Linked DNA regions of Homo sapiens: region 1 is linked to region 2. The links are contacts of gene promoters, found by promoter capture Hi-C in human tissues and cell types (Jung and others, 2019). All regions are on one chromosome and are shown on one strand. Each heading gives the region's core, a stretch centred on a gene start or on the middle of the fragment in contact. The rest is flanking DNA. Distances are from core to core; before and after follow the strand shown. Region 1 overlaps ATP13A3 (ATPase 13A3). Region 2 holds the start of LRRC15 (leucine rich repeat containing 15).

Evidence for each region. Contacts are between HindIII fragments. The study calls those that stand out against the background at their distance.
Region 1: a fragment that was not itself captured here is called in contact with the fragment with the promoter of LRRC15 in region 2 in 2 of the 25 tissues and cell types used here (mesenchymal stem cells and thymus).

The regions. Positions count from the first base shown.
Region 1 is chr3:194,454,648-194,460,146 of GRCh38, forward strand. ATP13A3 (ATPase 13A3) reads right to left here. Exons shown (of 34, transcript NM_001367549.1): 5 at 5,142-5,324; 6 at 4,824-4,894; 7 at 2,447-2,527; 8 at 1,246-1,315. Among named protein-coding and RNA genes, the nearest start is that of ATP13A3, 30 kb to the right of the region's middle. The HindIII fragment of the contact is 3,288 bases long and covers 2,405-5,499 here.
Region 2 is chr3:194,366,706-194,371,726 of GRCh38, forward strand. LRRC15 (leucine rich repeat containing 15) reads right to left here and starts at 3,038. Exons shown (of 2, transcript NM_130830.5): 1 at 2,956-3,038. RefSeq lists an enhancer at 2,497-3,461. The HindIII fragment of the contact is 13,291 bases long and covers 1-5,021 here.

The sequences.
Region 1 (5,499 bases), core at 2,799-5,298, 89 kb after region 2:
AAACCCTGTCTCTACTAAAAAATACAAAAAAGTTAGCTGGGCATGGTGGCAGGCGCCTGTAGTCCCAGCTACTCAGGAGGCCGAAGCAGGAGAATGGCTTGAACCCGGGAGGCAGAGCTTGCAGTGAGCCGAGATCGCGCCACTGCAGCCTGGGAGACAGAGCGAGACTCCGTCTCAAAAAAAAAAAAAAAAGGTAGGGCAATATGCCATCATACTCTTATTATCATTAAAATACTAGAATTTGGCTAAATAAGGTTAATTTAAATTACTGGCATCCATTTAGATTCATACCATCCAAATATAGATTCAGCTAGAAAAGGCTAGTAAGTGTATGATTTTAGCCGTTCTGCAATCTGCTTTGGCAATAAAGTACATTTATTTCCAATTACTGTGCTCTGGGCTAATAGAATACAAAACTTTTAACGAAATTGAAAAATGTTTGCTTACTATAAACTCAAAACACAAATTTACTTATATATCAAAAGTTAACTGGAGGTCAAAGGAAAGACAAATATGAGTTAATGGGTTATGTTACTTTGCTTTCTCTAAGATAATAACTAAGTATTAAATCCTGAATGAAAAAGAGATAAAGGGAGACCTTGGCAATGAACTTCACCCACCCAAATGTCATGGTATTTTATCAATTTCATTAAACACCCCCCACCCAATGTCTTCAAATTGATGCTTCTGTACTTTTCAAAGCACTTTCATATATAGTCTCATTTTACCTCAAAACCAAATGAGATAATTGGAAAAAACTTATTCCAAGTTTATAGGTAAAGGAGCAACAGAGAGAATGTACTAAAGATCAGAGCTAGTTACTGATGGAACTACATTAAAATCAGGTCTTCCAATTCCTAATCACTACACTATGCTATGCTCATAAGCAACATTACATGGCCACTCCCAGGAACTGATGAAAAACAATCTTACTTCTACTCCTAAAAGTGTTCACCTAATACAACTAATTCTTGAGCTTTAGCCAAAAACCAGAATGAAGATTGGTGAGCCTAACTCTGCTAGACATTCAACAGGTAATAAAAGCAAAACTAGACAAAATTTTAAGAATACATGCCCCAGATTCTTTCTCTACCAGAGTAAATGTCTTCCGTCTTTACCTTCCAAGTAAAAATATGAAAAAGAGGTTAGGAAAAAGAAAACCAAGAATATTTTAATCACAACTCATTCCAAATTGACACATCCATTGATCATGACTGTTAAGTTATATACAATCAATAGTCTTACCTCTTTAATTAGAAGCTTAAAAACAGAAGGCACTTTTACAGCAATTTCATTTACTCCATAAAGCAGTTTTCTATAACAGGAAAATACATTCATAGTATTACATTATATCATAATAGTATAATTTACGAAAGGCATTGTATTAGGTAAGGCTTAAACCACAGACTGTTCTTATTCATGTCTCCAAACACCTGTCTTCTATAATTCAAACTCTCTACCTACAGAATTTAAAACAAAGAAGTCAATAGTAGATACCTATACTGGTAGCACTTAACTTCATTTTGTCTCACATCTTTATGTGTGACAAGTATCTTTCCCACTAGTCTATAATACCATGTGAGCAAAAGGTTCTCTTTTGCATCCTTGAACACACTAGATCTTAACAATTTTGAATTACAATTATTTTTTGCAAGAAGCCAAATAAATTTGAGGGATCTTATTTTTTTTTTAATATTGCACTAACAGTGTTTAGTTCAAAACATTGTACATTCGACTTTAAAAGAAAATGCTTTTAAAGTTTAAATGTTTCCACTTAATTCCTTATGTTACAATAGTATTTTCTATATGATAGAGTAATTCTAGACTTTTATGAAATGTAAGTCTAAATGAGTGAATTTTATGTTCTACCCCTTTGAAAGAACATGTTACAGAACTATAAGAAAATTTCTTATTGAATTTCAAAGTGGCATTTATCTTTAACATACGCAATACACTGGTGTATTTTTATGATTTAACAAGGAATAACACAATGAAGGAGATTATGTCTCCCAATTTACAATCTTTCATTACGGTGAATTTGAACTCATGCTTGTATTTCAGAAAATCTAAGGTGCTATCAATTGTAAGGCATACCATTATTATATGATCAAGAAAGATAAAAATGCTATCAAGAACGACACTTCACCAACTCTATGACACATCCCAATCTCAGAGATGTTAAAAGGTGGAAAAACGTGCACCTGGGAACTGATGAAATATGGTATAATTTCAGGGATACCAACTTCAAAATATCAGCTTGCACATTTTTATAATTCTTAAACTAAGACAGTCTTACCCAAATAAAACATCAATAAATTCTCAACTACTATGTCTGTAATATTTAAGTATCTGTTAATATGTACAACTATATGGTAAAGGGTTGATTATGTATACTACTGCTTTTAGGAATTTTGAGAAGATCTAACTTTAGTTGGATAAAAATTACCTGTAGGCATGCATCCCCTTTGTCAGTCCTGCACTATGCTTTTCATAAATTGACGTACAAGAAACACCTTCATCCAGTCCCCTAAATAAATCCAAAGTTTTTACTTTAAACAAAGTTTAAAATATCCAAATTTCTTAACGCCTCATTTTTCTATATGCCTGATTTTATAAAGGTGTGACTTCCTTACAAATCCTTAGAAACCCTTAACAAAAATTGAGATAACAAATGAGAATTTTTAAATCTCAAATTCTTAAGATAAACAATGACAAATCTAAGTCTCAAACCCAACTTCGAAGCTATTCAATATGTTTATTGCAGGATAGATGAGATGGCTCTAAATACTCAAATTTATATAATAATATCATTATCCTTAAGACTGTGCCAAAGCTGTAATAGCTAAAATTAAACTTTAAAATTTTAAGATAAAGTATAACTTGAGAATTCTAAACCAAAGATGAAAACATTTTACTTTTTAGCTACATAGTTTCTCCTTTTCAATTTTAGAGTCAAATTAAGAATTTCTATTCATTTTCTTCCATCTCCATAAAAGCATCAAGCCAAACCCTTCCCTAAATGCATACCTGGTTTGAAGTGCAGAATTTATGAGTCACAGACAATGCCTAAAATCTGTAATAATTCTAAGTGGGCTTCAACTAACACATCTACTTTTTCCCAAAATATCTTAATTATGCTTTTTTTTTTTTTTTTTTTGAGATGGAGTTTTGCTCTGTCGCCAGGCTGGAGTGCAGTGGCACAATCTCGGCTCACTGCAACCTCCGCCTCCTGGGTTCAAGCCATTCTCCTGCCTCAGCCTCCTGAGTAGTTAGGAGTACAGGCACACACCACCATGCCTAGCTAATTTTTGTAATTTTAGTAGAGAAGGGGTTTCACCACGTTGGCCAGAATGGTCTCAAGCTCTTGACCTCAGGTGATCCGCCCACCTTGGCCTCCCAAAGTGCTGGGATTACAGGCATGAGCCACCACCCCCCGCCTTAATTATGCTTATTTTAACTGAGATACCAGCTATAACTCTAAAGCAAAGAAAGTCTTACATATACTTAATTCCAATCCTTTTCCACACTTTCCACATAGGAAAGCTAAGCTTCATAATTCACTTCAATCAATGGAGTAAGTTTAAATTTTTAAGTTTCTATGGCTGGCAAAAGACACACAGTAAATATGTTTGACATTTCTTCCCACTGAATTTGATGACTTCTCCAGAAGGCAGCAGGGGCCAGTGCCAAGTCAAAAAAAAAAAAAAATTTTTTTTTTAAACAAAATGACAGCCCATTGGCAATTTTCTTTGTTTTTATGAGACGCAGTTTCGCTCTTTGGCCCAGGCTGGAACGGAGTGGCACAGTATCAGCTCACTGCAACCTCCGGCCCCCTGGGTTTGAGCGATTCTCCTGCCTCAACCTCCTGAGTATTTGGGATTATAGCCATCCATCACCAGGCTAATTTTTTTTGTATTTTTAGTAGGGACGGGGTTTCACCGTGTTGGCCAGGCTGGTCTTGAACTCCTCACCTCAGGTGATCCGCCCGCCTTGGCCTCTTAAAATGCTAGAATTACAGGCATGAGACACCATGCCCGGCCTGATTTTCTTTAAGGCAATAGTTCTTAATCAGGAATGGTTTTTAAAACTAGGCATGTAAAAATGCCCATGCCCATTCCAGAATGTTCCAATTCATTAGTGTATCTGAGTAAAAAATCCAGGTATGAATATTTTATTTTTTACTTCCAATAGAAACCTACAGGTATGAATATTTTAAATGTTCATAACATGATTTTCTTTTTACCGCTAAAATTAAGAATTCCTTTGGCACTCTAAAGCAACGATATTAATGAGTATTTATAATAATCATTTTAAGAGCAATAAAAACAGAATCTTAATGTGTACTTATATAACTTAAATCCTCGATTAAAAATAAAGGAATTACTACAGCTTGCCCCATTCTTTATCTACATAGTAAAATTAAATTTCTCTTTGCCTATTACTCTACTCCTCAAGTACCACAGGCTTTAAGTGTCAGTAAACCAACAGGTAATGATTCAGATACTCTAAGTTGAGACACAGGCTATGAGGTATACTCAAAATCACTTTGAGGTGAAACAGGTAAGAACTCAGACTCAGTAGACTTTGGCATCATACTGACTCTAAGTTTCATGTAAACTCTGCCATGGTGCAAGCTGCGGTGGGACTTATTTTAAAATGGCTAATGAGCCTTCAAACAGCAACAGGGAGTTGTTAATTAATACGTGAATAGAAATTATAAAATAAAACCTCAGCAATTTTATGAATACTAGAATGGACTCTTTTCTATCTAGAACGTTTTCAGGATATTCAAAATACAATCCAAACAAAAGGAAGATACTTACTTTAAGAAATCAAAATTGTGAATGGTATCATTCCAGAAATATTTTACACTATGGTGGGTGAAATAACGAATCTGTGGAACACAAATAAACGTTACACCAAAAAGCATATAATCACTTGTGATATGTAATCTGTTACTTCTATTAACAGCTATATATAGGATTATATATAGCATTATATATAGTAATATGTAATATTTTATATGCAGGTAAATTTATCTCAAGCATTAACTGCAAACACAAAATTATAGAATATACATGATAGCATAAAATGTAACAATTCTGATTTTTAAAGAAACTTTGACATTAAGATCACAATACCTGTTGTGATTCAGTCTGTGAATATTTACTGATCCTGTGCCTATTTTCTTCAGTGGGATTCTCAATTAAACAAACTGCATGGCCATTTGAAAGCTTATTAGACATAGATTTTGGACTTGAAACTGGGTAAGTTTCCAAAGAAAGAACGCGAATTTTTGCACAAAACCACATTTTGAATTCATCCTTAAAGAGAGAAAGGGATAACGGTAAGGAGTCAATTTTATAGAAAACTGCCTATATTTTCATTTATTTTCCATTCTTTACAAGACATTATTTCCTCATCTCTAATTGAGGAAACATCACGCCTACTCACTAAATATTAAACCATTTCATGAGGATGCTTAAATTCAAACATAAG
Region 2 (5,021 bases), core at 1,788-4,287:
CCTGGCAATAGAAGCTGCTTCCAGAAACGGTACTTAGAGCCTGGAGCATCAGAGGTGCAAGAGCTTTCTGAGTGCACCTAGTCAAACCGTCTGCTCATTTTGTAGTTGGGAAAGCTGAGGGGGTCCCCAGGGAGCAGAGACTTGCCCAAGGTCACACAGTCCGTTGGGGACTCCTGACACCCGATCAGGGCCCCTAACTACAGAGTTTGGCAAATCCCTGAGCCTCATCACCGGGATTTGGGACCTTGTCAACCACACGCCTGGCAGGGCCTGGGATTGGGGAGGAGGTGGATTTGCACCCTCCAGCTTAAATCAACTGAGGCTCATACAATCCACCTTCCCCCTGCCCAGCATGATTCGCCAAGGGCAAGTGCTTATTTCAACTACCAGGCTGCATGGGTTCAGGGATTTCTTCTTTAAGGCTGCTCTGATGCTGGTGTTTGTTCAATTCCACCTGAGTCTCCTGGAGGACTGTAGGGAAGGGACAGAGGGTTCACCAGAAGGTGTTGACCCCTGTAATCTCAACAACAAGGCTGGAGATGGAGTCAAGGCTGCAGATGGATTTGTGATGAGGGGTGTGTGGATCTTTATTTTTTTATTTTTATTTATCTATTTTTTTTGAGACGGAGTCTTGCTCTGTCACCCAGACTGATGTGCAGTGGTGTGATCTCTGCTACTGCAAGCTCTGCCTCCCGGGTTCACACCACTCTCCTGCCTCAGCCTCCCGAGTAGCTGGGACTACAGGTGCCCGCCACCACACCCGGCTAATTTTTTGTATTTTTAGTAGAGACAGGGTTTCGTCGTGTTAGCCAGGATGGTCTTGATCTCCTGACCTCATGATCCTCCCGCCTCGGCCTCCCAAAGTGCTGAGATTACAGGCGTGAGCCACCGCGCCCGGCCAGTGTGTGGATTTGAAACTGGGACAGCTGCACCTTTACCTGTGTCTCTGCTCAAATGTAGAGGCAGGACCTGGGGCCAAGGTCACAGGCCCCTGATTTGGGAATACTCCACCCCAAACAGAAACCTTCCTTGAACTCCAAAGCAAGACTGGCCACACCCTCACCGTCCACCTTGATCAAGCGGGGACCCGCGTCTCTCATCTCTCATGGCCCTTCAAAGCCAACATGTTGCTTATTGTTTGAAAACAGAAAATCAGTTAAAAAGCGCAATTCCTTTCCAGCCCTTCTGTTGGGGATCCTCCCAGGTCTGGCTTCCTGCAGAGGCCAGAGCAGGACTGTCATTAGCCTGGCAAGGGTGGCAGGAGAAACTGACAAACCGCCCAGCAGAACAGGAGAACTGCCCCAAAAGGGCTCTTATGACAGCAGCCACGGGCTACAAACAGCCCCCTTCTCAGGCGGGCACCTGGGATCCCAAAGTAGAGAGAAATGGATCAGCCCCTGATCAAAGCATCTGGAAGCAGGTTCTAATTTCTGTGTCCAAAAGCCAAGACAGGCCATAAATCTGAAGCAGCAGTGACTCCTTCGTGGTCAGGATTCAGGGCAGCAAATTGCCATGTGTGATCACAGTCTGCTTACTGGCAGGACTGAGTCGGGACAGCTCCTCCCCCACCCCTTATTCTCCACGGCTGGATCTATTCTACCTCGCCTCACCACCCCGCCATTTACTGAGCGAGCTAAGGGAGTGTTCCCTAGCCCTGGGAAGAACCTTCCATGACCTGACTGTCTGTCGAATCTATCCAGAACTTACCCTGGCCCCGAACCCTCTCACATGCCTGCCTCATCACTGCTGAGCCCGCCCAGCTGACTCAAGACCACAGGCAAATTGGGCTGTCTGGCCCTGAATTTACTCCAGATGTTCAGTCTCTGCAGAATGAAGGAAGTGCCAGCCGTTAGAGCACTTCTAAATTAAGGAGCCAGTGGCAGCAACACATCTGAGAGCTGCCCAAGGTAAAGTGACGCATCCCAGATAACCCCAAAGGAGAAGCTGGCACGTGGCAGACAGGCACCTGGCACCTGCGACTGGAGCACACGTGTCATCTCAGAGAGAGTGCAGCTGCACCGAGGTGATGCCCTGGGCCCGGGAGGTGGAATGGCTCTTGCACTTTGGCAGGGGTGGGAGAGTCCTGAAAGCTCTGGTTTTCCACAGTTGGTTTCTTGGCCCCAGGTCCTGCCTCTACGTTTGAGCAGAGACACGGGTCAAGGTGCAGCCGTCACAATTTCAAATCCACATACCACCTCATCACAAATCCATCTCCTGCCCTGACTCCCTGCTCAAAGCCTCCAGGCTCCACAGAGGCCGACGCTTCCAGCAGGAGAGAGGGGAAACTGCCAGCATAGTGTCCCCTAAGCCACACTGTTAGAGCCTGAACAATGCTGAGCCCATGTCCGAATTCCAAATTGGAACTGCAAACCAGGGACCAGCACATCTGCTGAAGTTACACTTGCAGGAGTTATCCATCTATGCAAAGCAGACAGCTCTCTTGCCTGGGAAACCCCCATGAAGGAAGGTCTTGGGCAGAACCAAATGCGGGGCAGACCACTGGGAGCCACCAGGGCAAGTGCCAGGAAAGATGGCACAGGCGCAAATAATCTGAACCTTAAAAAGAGAAGTTCTTCCCCCAGTGGATCTAGATTCCAGAACGGTCAATCCAGTGACAAGGGGGGTGATAATTTAGTCCACTTTCAGCCCAACTTGCTGGTCTCAGACATCTCAGCACCCCAGGTTGACATCATGAGCCGCTCAGGGCAAGGGGCATAAGAGGCTGTTGAGGCATCAGCAGAGGGGCTGGTGGTCCTGGTGTCCAGGCAGTGAGGGAGACAGGCTTGCACCCCTCCAGCACAGGCTGCTTCTGTCCCTGTCCCGAGAGCATCCCCAGGCACATGTCAGCTCTGCCCCTTCTGGGGTCTCCGAGGGGAGCAGGTCCAGCAGAAATGGGAAGGGGCTGGCCGGGCCCTCTAAGCAGAGAGGAGGGATGGGGGTGGCTTGCCTACTTACCAGCAGCTCGGCGCCCGCCCGCCGTGGACAAGAGGGAGCCTGAGAGGAGGACGAGGGACGGCTCAAGGCTGCAGCATGAGTGTGGCTCGCCTAAGCTGTCCCGGTATTTAAACTATCCCGGGCGTGAGTCACTGCAGAGGGCAGTGTTGGCCCTGGGAGGGGGGACTGTGGGCCACAGTGCAGTGCCTGCATGTCCCGGGCTGACACTACAGGGTACACATAGCTGGCATCCCTAAATGTAAGGGGTTTGCTTCAACCGTATTTAAAAACTCAGGACACATTTTCCTCTTTCCTTCTTTCCCCCAGTGTATCTTTTGGATTCCTTCACTGCATTGGCCACCGTGAGAGGGGAGTTTACAACGACCCGGTAAACCCCTCCCTAAGTGACTGTGGACCCCCTGCTGCCCTGCCCTGGCCAAGGAGACAAGGACCCCGAGAAAGGGATGGAGCAGGATTCAGGGGCGTTTCTTTGCTCCTAGAAGTATTGGCAAGTGCTTCTCCCTGTGGTTCTAGAAAACTTATTCATTCTTCTCTTTCTTTCTTTCTTTCTTTCTTATTTTAAACTTTTTATTTGGCTTTAAATTTACAGACAATTAATGTGTTTCATCTGTTGTTAACATTTTGGAAGAAGCATTTACTTTAGATTCCAAGGAAAAATATAATTACGACCACTGTGTCCCCTCTAAAAACAGCATTTCCGATTTCCTTGTGATGCTGGGGTCTTTGCCATTACTGCTGCTCTGAGAGGTGCAGGCACACACATCTCTGGCTTGGGGACGGGCAATCAAGGGGCATATTTGGGCGTGAGGAGCTTCCCTATGCCCCTCACCTCTGCATTACAGCCCACACACTGCTGCCCTCTCTACCCCCGTCCCCAGTGGGGACAAAACTGTTTCTATTTGTGGTATCCCCAAAAAGGCCTGGGGAAGAGGATACAGGAATCATAGTTGGAGGGGCGGGAAGGCTTCCAAACCCCGGCTTCTCCTCCGAGATGGAGCCTCAACAAGGCCTGAGCTGCCCCAGGCTGAAGCCACCCTGCCTTTGCCTGGCTCGGTTTACCCTCTCAGCTAAGTGGGGAGAGTGATATTTACACACAGTGCCTCATGGAGTGCCAAGAGGCTTAATTAATATTTGCGCTGTGTTTTGAGATCTGCGATGAAAGGAAGATATAAAAGTGCGTAGTGTTATTACTGAAATAGTTGCTTGGGTGGCTTGTCATGGTCAAGACCTACAGCCTGAATCACGCCACATTCCTCCTCACTGTGGCACCGTGATTCAGAGCCGGAAACAAAAAGTGTCTTGTCCACTAAATAACAGGAGCCCAGGAGGGGCAGGCACTGCTTGGAGTGGCTCCACACAGCTTGAAGCCCCATCCCTTCCCCCACCAGCCTTGTTCCCACGTGCAGAACACCTTCCCTCTTACGGCCCTGATTCCTCCACGTTCCCAAATCAGGTACTTTAACTTTTCTCTTTTTTTTTTTTTTTTGAGACGGAGTCTCACTCTGTCACCCAGGCTGGAGTGCAATGGCGCGATCTCGGCTCACCGCAGCCTCCGCCTCCTGGGTTCAAGCGATTCTCCTGCCTCAGCCTCCTGAGTAGCTGGGATTACAGGCACGCACCACCAGGCTCAGCTAATTTTTGTATTTTTTGTAGAGATGGGGTTTCACCGTGTTAGCCAGGATGGTCTTGATCTCCTGGTCTCATGATTCTCGTGATCCACCCGCCTCAGCCTCCCAAAGTGCTGGGATTACAGACGTGAGCCACCGCGCCTGGCCACTTTAACTTTCTTTCCATAGAACCTACAAGAATAAGAATATCCCTCTTTTTCCTCTTCCATCCTCCCTAATCCTAGCACCCAAGCGCTCTGTGTCGGGCACTGTGCTGGGAGTGGTGGACAACACAGGGATGAATCGGCTGCATTTAAAGATGGCTATTTGGGAAGCACCTGCTGTGAACCAGAGACCCCTTGGGTACCTCACTGCAGCTCTCCATCATTTCACCTCCACCAGCTTTCTCGGCCTCACCACGTGACATTTGGAGGCAGATAATTCTTCATTGCAGGAGCT